Regions from separate parts of the Homo sapiens genome. Here regions 1 and 2 are each linked to region 3. Evidence: promoter capture Hi-C in 16 types of primary human blood cells and fetal thymus (Javierre and others, 2016). All regions are on one chromosome and are shown on one strand. Each heading gives the region's core, a stretch centred on a gene start or on the middle of the fragment in contact. The rest is flanking DNA. Distances are from core to core; before and after follow the strand shown. Region 1 overlaps AASDHPPT (aminoadipate-semialdehyde dehydrogenase-phosphopantetheinyl transferase). Region 2 overlaps MSANTD4 (Myb/SANT DNA binding domain containing 4 with coiled-coils). Region 3 holds the start of BIRC2 (baculoviral IAP repeat containing 2).

Region 1 (2,866 bases), core at 155-2,654, 3.7 Mb before region 3:
ACCGTCCTGGCATATGGTAGGCTATATACTAGGTATGTTCTCTCCTGCACGTCCACAGCAACAGTTGGGAGAACAGGTAGAGGGAGGGAAATGAGCTGCACTCAGCAGAAATGGTTAATGCACCATGAAAGAAAAAGACTCTCTGAGTTCCTAGTGGATTCTTACCTATAGGACAAGACAGAGTAATGGAATTGACTCTTTCAATGCACTAATGATAACCCCCAAAAGCCAACTCTGTCTTTAGAGTTGGCAATCTAGTAACAATGCCTAGTACAAAACAGAGTACTTTCCTTGCTGCTCTCCTAAGTTTTGCCTAGCATCATTTAGCAAGACTCTTAGGAAAAATCCCTTGCTCAATCTCCTCACTTACTACAATAAGTAGAGCAATTCAAAGAATCTCCAATGAAGCAAATCAGTGTCTACTTCCCATCTTCATTAAGAAATCATGCTGTGTCCATTGATGCTTCAGGAATCAGTAGCATGGTAACAACACTAGTGACAATTGGAAAATCTCTCTTCCTTTCTGTGTTACTGGACATAGCAACAGCTTTTTCACAACAAAATAAAGAAAAGGAAAAGGCCTAGACATTGTGATTAGTCAAGTAAGATCAACTAAAAAAAACTGGTGGGGGGAGGTCTAATAACACAATTAACAGGAAAACTAAATCTTAAATTTTTGCTCAATTGTCTTTCCATCATTTATTTTTCTTTTTTATTATTATTATTATTATACTTTAAGTTCTAGGGTACATGTGCACAATGTGCAGGTTAGTTACATATGTATACATGTGCCATGCTGGTGTGCTGCACCCATTAACTCATCATTTAGCATTAGGTGTATCTCCTAATGCTATCCCTCCCCCCTTCCCCCACCCACAACAGTCCCCAGAGTGTGATGTTCCCCTTCCTGTGTCCATGTGTTCTCATTGTTCAATTCCCATCTATGAGTGAGAACACCATCATTTATTAAAAGCTTCAGTTATTAATTACTTGTTTATCTAGCATTGACCATAGCCAACACTGCCCATCAAGTTAACTGGTAACAAAATCTGTTTCTCAGAAGTATCATTTCCAAGCAGATACCAACCCACTGGGCCAATTATTACCAGGTAGTTGTGCTGACTGCATTCTAAAAAACAATGGCCTTTCCATTTCTGATTTTAGAAAAAGTTCCTGTAATGACAGCAGAAAGCTACAAGAATATATGGGCTAATTCCCATGCTAAGAATCCTCTATAGCAGCAATTTTTTTAGAGTAAGCCACCTATGTCCCTGTTGAATACCAGATCCTTTCCCAAGAAAAATGCACATGTGCATATCATACAAAATGTAGCATACAGTTTCAGGAGGTAAACAAAATTCCTGGAATCTTATCCAGGGAATCAGATCAACAATCTGTTATAAGGTTTCCAAAATCACTAGTAGGGCCTTGTTCTGAACAAACCTGAGAATAGAGTTGTACTGGAAAGGTTTATTAGCAGGTAAGAGAAAGAGTAGCTAGTAGGAAAATGCAAGGTAAGGACAATAAAAGCAAAAGGGAGAAGAGATTCACAACCACACTGAAGCCTATACTCTAACAGCACAGTGTTTATTCATTCATTTGACAAATATTTTACTATTACATGCTAGGCAAGGTACTAAGAGATGTGATAGTGATCAAACTCTGATGTGGCTAACATGGTTCTTGCTCTCACACAGCTTTTAAGTATCAGGAAAAGATAATCAATCATCCTGATGAATAATCAACTGAGATACATTACTGGAATAAGGAAAATATATTTTATGAGAACCTACAACAAAAGAACCTAGCTTAGATTGAAGGCTCACAAAGCTTCCCTAAAGTAAGGTTAAGGTGAAATCTAACAAGTAAATAGGAGTTCTCTATGCAGAAATGGGAGTGAGAGATAAAATTAATACAAGCCTTACAGACTGAGAGAGCCACATATTCAAACCACATATGGTGCAGGCAGTATGGAGATTAGATAGTTTTACTATGAAATTAGGAAGATGTGGGTTCTTTTATTAATAGCTTTCTTCTTAGCCTGTTACTTATTTTCTTTAAAAATAGCAGTATATGCATCATAGGGTAGTTGAGAGAATTAAATCACAGAATATGTCTAAAGCACTATGTAAAATGCCATGACACGTGGTTAAGTGTTCATTAAATGTTAGTGATGATGACAAATATACAGCAGTTAAGAGAACCTGTATTTAGTATGTATTAAATTGCCTGGGTACATTCAACTTCACCACAAATGTTAGTGGTCCTTAAAGCCACCACTAACAAATTTCTAAGGCAATATATAAGCAACTTAAATATTTTAATAATGCTTGCTCCTCATTTTTACTTACATAAATGGGCTAAAAAGAGATGTATTTAGATGCAGAACAAAGAGTCGCCCGTTGGTATCCACTGGGGACTGGTTCCAGGACCCTCCTCAGATACCAAAATCTGCGCATGCGGCCCTATGGAACCTGCATATATGAAGTCAGCCCTCCACATCCTCAGGTTTCATATCCTGCAAATACTGAATCTTGATACACGTTTGATTGTGGATGCAGAATCTATGGGGACAGAGGGCCAACTACTGAAAAAAATTCACATGAGTAGACCCATGCAGTTCAAACTTGTGTTGTTCATGTGTCAACTGTATACGTTATCTCTACATAAGGACTACAATGTACTTTACTATTCAGATTCTTTTTTAAAAAACAAACAATTAACTGAAAAATTGTGGTTAATGTTTAAGTGAAATAAATTGAAGTATAATTCAAAAAAAATTTCACTTAATATTTCACTTTACCTCTAGGCAAAGTTATGGATCCCCAGTAACGGATAATCTATTATTTATGTGTAAGTCTGTAAA
Region 2 (2,700 bases), core at 118-2,617, 3.7 Mb before region 3:
TGTTCTCTGTGATTGGGCATAGAAGGTTTGTAAGTTTTAGAGACTGCAGCTGTTGAATCCTTTCTGCTAAGAGAGCGATGACAGGCAATAGAAAAGGGATAGTGTTTGACATCTAAAATGACATATTTTCACATTTTATGAGGTGTTATATCCCCAGCACCAAAAATAGTGCCTTTCACACAGTAGGAGCTCAGTAAGTATTTTTTGAGGAAATTATTGGGGAATGAATGGATGGTAGAAAACCCAAGCTTCTGTTACTTGGATACCGGCATATAAAGGAGAGGACAGGAAGACAAACATTTCTGGAAATGGCTTTTATCCAGGTAAGCATATCTACAGAACTTCAACAACTCAAGATGCATCAATGCTGGCACTTTCTTGCACTTAATCAGAAAATATCAAGGTTTTAGAAGAAGATTTTCACACAATTAAGCCAAGACTGGGTATCTAAGGTGCATCCCAATATCAATTTCAGTCAGGTTAAAAATGTATTAAAGCCCATTTGATTAAATGAAATAGTTCATCAGTTCAGAATAGATCAGTCAGGACAACGGGATACCACTTTGTAAGTTAGAGATATGGAGTTAGGAATTGTTGGTCAAAAATAGGCCCTGCAAATAGCAACAGCTGCTGTCAAACTTTAAAAATATATTGACTCAGTGGTACTTCAAAAGGACTGCTATTTCTACCATGTACCAATACATTTACAACAATGCGATTTCTAAATTGATCTCAGATTCTAAGAGCAAAATCTTACGGTGGATATCTGCATAAATTTGGACTCTCGACAACTTCAATCATTTTTATTATATACTTATATTGGTTATATATTTATATGTTACTACAGTAACAGTTCTTCCATATTAATGGTAGCCTGCTTGAATTTCAAAAAACTTTCACAGTTATATTTGTCTCTTTCAGTTCATTTTTAGCAAATAATAGTCTTATTAAGCCAGAATTCGCTTAGTAAGATTTGCTGCTTGGCACTATCCTAATTTTCCAGCTTTAATTCCTGATACTTCTTTCTTTTATTTCTGTCCCTCATTAGTCTGTTTTATAAGACCCAAATCAAATGCTGATTCTGACTCAAAACATTCCTTGATCCCATCAAAGATTTGTCTTTCTTATGAATATCCAGAGTATTTTGTTAGTATTTCTTTATTGTAGTTTTTGTATATTTGCATTATTCATCCAGTGAAGAAATATTTGTTAATTACATTCAGATACTGTACTGGGCAATGGATAATAGCTGACATTTGTGGGCTTACTATGTCTTAGGCATGATAAACTTCTTAATCGGTTTATCTCTTTTAATCTTCAAAACATCACGAGTATTAGTCTATTATTCCCATTTATAGATGAAGAAACAAGTTTAAGAGGTTAAGTAATTCGCTGGAGATCACAGAGCTAGTTAAGTGGTGGAATTGGCATACAGCCTTAGGTAGTCTGTATTCACAACCTTCAGGTTACAGACTTCATTACAATTTGTTTATGTACTTTTTTTATGCATCTGTGTTTTACTAAGTTGCAAATTATTTGATAGCAGGAATAATATATTCGTATCTGATCTCTTATTGCTCCTAATGTAAATCAGTGGTGTAATAAAGCTGATAGTGGAAGCACATAGGGAGGACATCAGACTTAGGTGAATGGGAACAGTGAAGAGATCCTGGAACAGAAGACATTTAAACAAGAGTGCTGAAGGATGAGTAGGCATTGGCCTGACGAAAAGGCAGACACCATGGAAATGGGGAAGATGACCTGGGGAAATATATGTGTGATAGTCCAAGGTCAGGGACCATGATGGCTTGAGTTGTGCTGTTCCAGTATGGTAGCCAGTAGCCTTACATTATTGAATGTAAATATCTCAATAATTGTTTATATTGATTATATTTCAAAATAACATTTTGGATATATTGGGTTAAATAAAATACTCACTTTTACCTGTTTCTTTTTACCGTTTTAATGTGGCTACTTGGGGATTTAAAATTACATATAGGGCTCTTACATTTCTATTGGACAGCACTGATCTAGAATTTAGAGGGATTTGAAAATGACTGGTATTGTGTTTGTGTGCCACCTACATGTGAGTACATGTTTGATGAGGAAGGTGGATTGGGAAAGTAGGTTGGGAGTTGGTACTGGAGGTGATGGATAAGACCAGAAAAGGTAGATGGGAAAGTGTAAAGGTAGGGTTCAGATAGGGTTTACAATAGGAAGAGAGGAAGAGCAAGGGAAGTAAACTTACCTCTTAAGTGCAATGGAAAGCCTTGAAAGGTTTTAAACACTCAGTATATACCTATTGAATGACACAGTGTCCTAATTAATTCATCTAATAATGCATGTTCCTGATTTATACTACTAATTCAGTCATAATTTTTCCTAATGGAGATATGGATAGGGGTCTAAAGACATTCTACTTAGAAGAAAATTTGGTTCTCAAGAGAGCAGTCCTTTTCTTCTTATATCTAAATCACCTAAGCTTTCATTCATTCTTTTGATGTGTTTCCAACAAATAGGAGTGTGAATTGGTCCTACAACTAGCATATTCTTCTTGCATTTGACATAACATTCTCTTGGGCATATTTTTCCATAAATAAACCAGCTTTGTCTGTATTTTAAGTCTTTTGTGGCAGATGAGGTCTTTTCTTAATAATCTCCTAAAGGAAGTTTCTTAGGAGCTACACCATTTGCTCTCTG
Region 3 (2,831 bases), core at 143-2,642:
TTGTAAATCTGAAAAGAAAAAACAAAAAGTATTTTAGAAAACTGTATGTGCATGCCAAATAGAACTTACATACTCTTCAATTTATTCAGTAAAGTCTAAGAATAATTCACACTTTAGATAATACATCTTAATTCCAGCAATTTGTCACAACTTTCTAAATGAAAAAGCTATTAATTAAAATAAGTAAATGCAACATACTCCCCATAGCACTAACTATACGTGTCTTTAAAACGCACAACTTCAGAGACAGATGGAAATTTTCACACAGGAAACATTTTGTCCTTGCTCTCCTCCCCTTTTCTGGCCTAAAGGTAACTCTGGCACTCTGCTGGAGGCAAAGGCACATTGGTTAAAAAGACAGACAGACACTCCACTACACCCTGTCAGCAGCAGTACAGCAGGAATTAAGACAGCAACGTTAGTTTGTAATATCAAGTCTCTCCACGACTAGGAAAACTGCAGTAAAATGCACCACGAGTTCATTAATATAAACTCTTAAACTCTGCCATTCCCTTACAATTTCAAAGCAACGACCACAGAAAGCAACTCGAAAACAAAACCTAACACAGTGGCCTGTGAAACAGTGGCTCCGGCACTACGACCACTGGCATGATTGCTTTAATTACACCCGGTCTTATATCCTATCTTTAAATGAAAGATTTTTATCTACGTGCACCGCACTGCTGCATTCTCTTTACGCAAATTGCAGCTGGGCAGGGGATAGGATGGAAGGGAAAAGAATAGAAACTATGGGATTTACCCAATAATTTCCCAGAGTTGCTTCTCACAATACACAACAGACGACTACTGGAATGACAGAGCGCAGTGGCAACTATGAAATATGAAATATCGCCGCCACCGAAATATCTTCGTTTCAATGTATTACATTAAAAGAACGCCGAGGGCTAAGTTTAAAACCTTGCAAAAACTGCGAGAAAACATCTTGGTCAAAGTCCAAGGGCCAGAAGAGTGGGCGGCGGCCAGAGGCTTGAAAACAAGTCATTTTAAAAATCGCTTTGACTGCAAGTCTCGAAGTTGGGGCTTCCGAATCCAATAAAACCTTGGCGAGAGTAGAAAGCAGAGAGCCCCCGGCGACCCTCGACCCTTGGCCGAAGGGCCTCAGGCCCCGTCCTTCCTCGTTCGCCGCCACATCAGGGAAGTGGGCCCCCGCGGGCCCTCGCGTCCCCACCCGCCCCACGCCGCCCGAGCCCGGAAGGAGCAGCACTCACCGCAGTGCGGGCGCAGCAAACACGGAAGCTGCGCGGCTGCCTAGAGGCCTCCGCAGAGCCGGGAATCAGCGGCGCCGACAAGGAGATACGGCCCGCTCGGCTCGGATCAGCCCGGGCGCTCCCGAAGCCCGCCGCCCCATCCGGGCTCACTCTGACGCACGATGACGTCAGCGCGCCCGGCCGAGGACCAGCGTTAGCCGCCGCGCGAGGGCGCCCGGGAGGCTGGGGCCGGAAAGCGGAACCGAGAGCGCTTTCCGCCGTGCGGCGATGAACCTCCGGGAAAGACGCTGGGAGGCCAGGATGCCCGGCGCAACTGGACGCTCATCGGGAGTCACGGGGTCGGCCCTCAGGGGAACGGGGACTATCCGTATCAACTCGGTGTTTGTTCGTTTTCTTCACCTTGCGGTTTGTGCCCTCTCCACATTTCCTCTCTGTGTCTACCATTCTCCTGGGGGACGTGGCAAACCGTGAGCCGCTGCGTTTGAGTTTTGGGAAACCCTGCGGAAACGCCCTGGCGCCGGTGGTTTTGCGCGTCCTACCCTGTGTCACCTCAGGGTTATGATCTGGCCCCTGGCAAGGCTCCCCAAGTGTGATGCCTCCCCCCGTCCAGATGACTGCATTTTGAGGATGGAGTCAGTCTGGTGGCATTTTTTGCTTAAGTAAACAATTGTAACCGTTTGTGTAGCATCAGCGTTCAACAGCTGCCTGTGCAAATCGAAAAAAGCGAAACTTTGGAAACTAGGAAGCATCAGATGAATAATTCTGAAGACTTGATGTCAACGGGAGTATCTTGTTTTTAAACTTTTGGTTTTCTGTTCTGGAGACAAACAGTTCATATGCACTAAAGAAAAAAGTGTCATTATTTCAGATGCTCATTGCCAGCAAAGAGAACTGTATTGCAAGTCAGGCTTCACTCCCAGTATTTTCTGAATGTTTCAATAAAATGAAATATATACGTCTGCCTGTGTATTGGTGTACATGCACATATAATTGTACATAAACCAGAGAGGAGCCCAATTTTTTTTAATGCTTAGGTAATAGAAAATTTGTAAATAAAAACCCTTGGCTTTTGCTAGTCATGGACCTTTTGTATCCCCCCGCCATACTCCCCCAATAGTGCCATAGACACAGTGTCGTGCAGTAAATGTTTGTGGTATGACAACCAACGAACGACTTTTGAAGTTGACGCTCTTTGCCCGTTGAATCCGATGCTTGCTTCTCTCTGGGGAACTCCAAGGGGCAAATATTTAAAAAACTTCCAAATAGCAAGCCACTTAATTAGGGAGCCGGGGGAATTCCAAGACCCTGAACCATTTCCCATTTCCTGTCTGTGTCATTTCTGCCTGCCAGTCAGTCACAGAACAGGAGGTCTACTGTTCCAATGTTAATAGTCAAAGAAAGTGAGTGTAACAGTTTGTAATACAGAGAAAAGAAATGCCATGGCTCCCAATGACTAAAAACTTCCAAAAATGCACCTGGGGCTTGGTAGTAGTTTAGTATTTAGTTCAAGTCACTATTTCTCGGAAGGTTTACAGAACATTCCTAACACATGTGGGAAAATATATATAGCAAGAATTGTTCATTCTGAACTCAAGATTATTT

Evidence for each region. The method cuts DNA at HindIII sites, captures the fragments that hold promoters and counts their contacts. A CHiCAGO score of 5 or more calls a contact.
Region 1: a contact is called between a fragment that was not itself captured here and the fragment with the promoter of BIRC2 in region 3, in 2 of 17 cell types (total CD8 T cells and total CD4 T cells). The highest score is 7.8, in total CD8 T cells.
Region 2: a contact is called between a fragment that was not itself captured here and the fragment with the promoter of BIRC2 in region 3, in 2 of 17 cell types (total CD4 T cells and naive CD8 T cells). The highest score is 7.5, in total CD4 T cells.

Annotation. Positions count from the first base shown.
Region 1 is chr11:106,079,868-106,082,733 of GRCh38, reverse strand. The region is part of intron 2 of AASDHPPT (aminoadipate-semialdehyde dehydrogenase-phosphopantetheinyl transferase); the gene reads right to left. Among named protein-coding and RNA genes, the nearest start is that of AASDHPPT, 3.6 kb to the right of the region's middle. The HindIII fragment of the contact is 857 bases long and covers 976-1,832 here.
Region 2 is chr11:106,018,585-106,021,284 of GRCh38, reverse strand. It overlaps MSANTD4 (Myb/SANT DNA binding domain containing 4 with coiled-coils), which reads left to right. Exons shown (of 3, transcript NM_032424.3): 1 at 1-323. Among named protein-coding and RNA genes, the nearest start is that of MSANTD4, 2.3 kb to the left of the region's middle. The HindIII fragment of the contact is 2,234 bases long and covers 251-2,484 here.
Region 3 is chr11:102,345,775-102,348,605 of GRCh38, reverse strand. It overlaps BIRC2 (baculoviral IAP repeat containing 2), which reads right to left and starts at 1,392. Exons shown (of 9, transcript NM_001166.5): 1 at 1,230-1,392; 2 at 1-8. RefSeq lists an enhancer at 771-840. The HindIII fragment of the contact is 3,484 bases long and covers 1-2,831 here.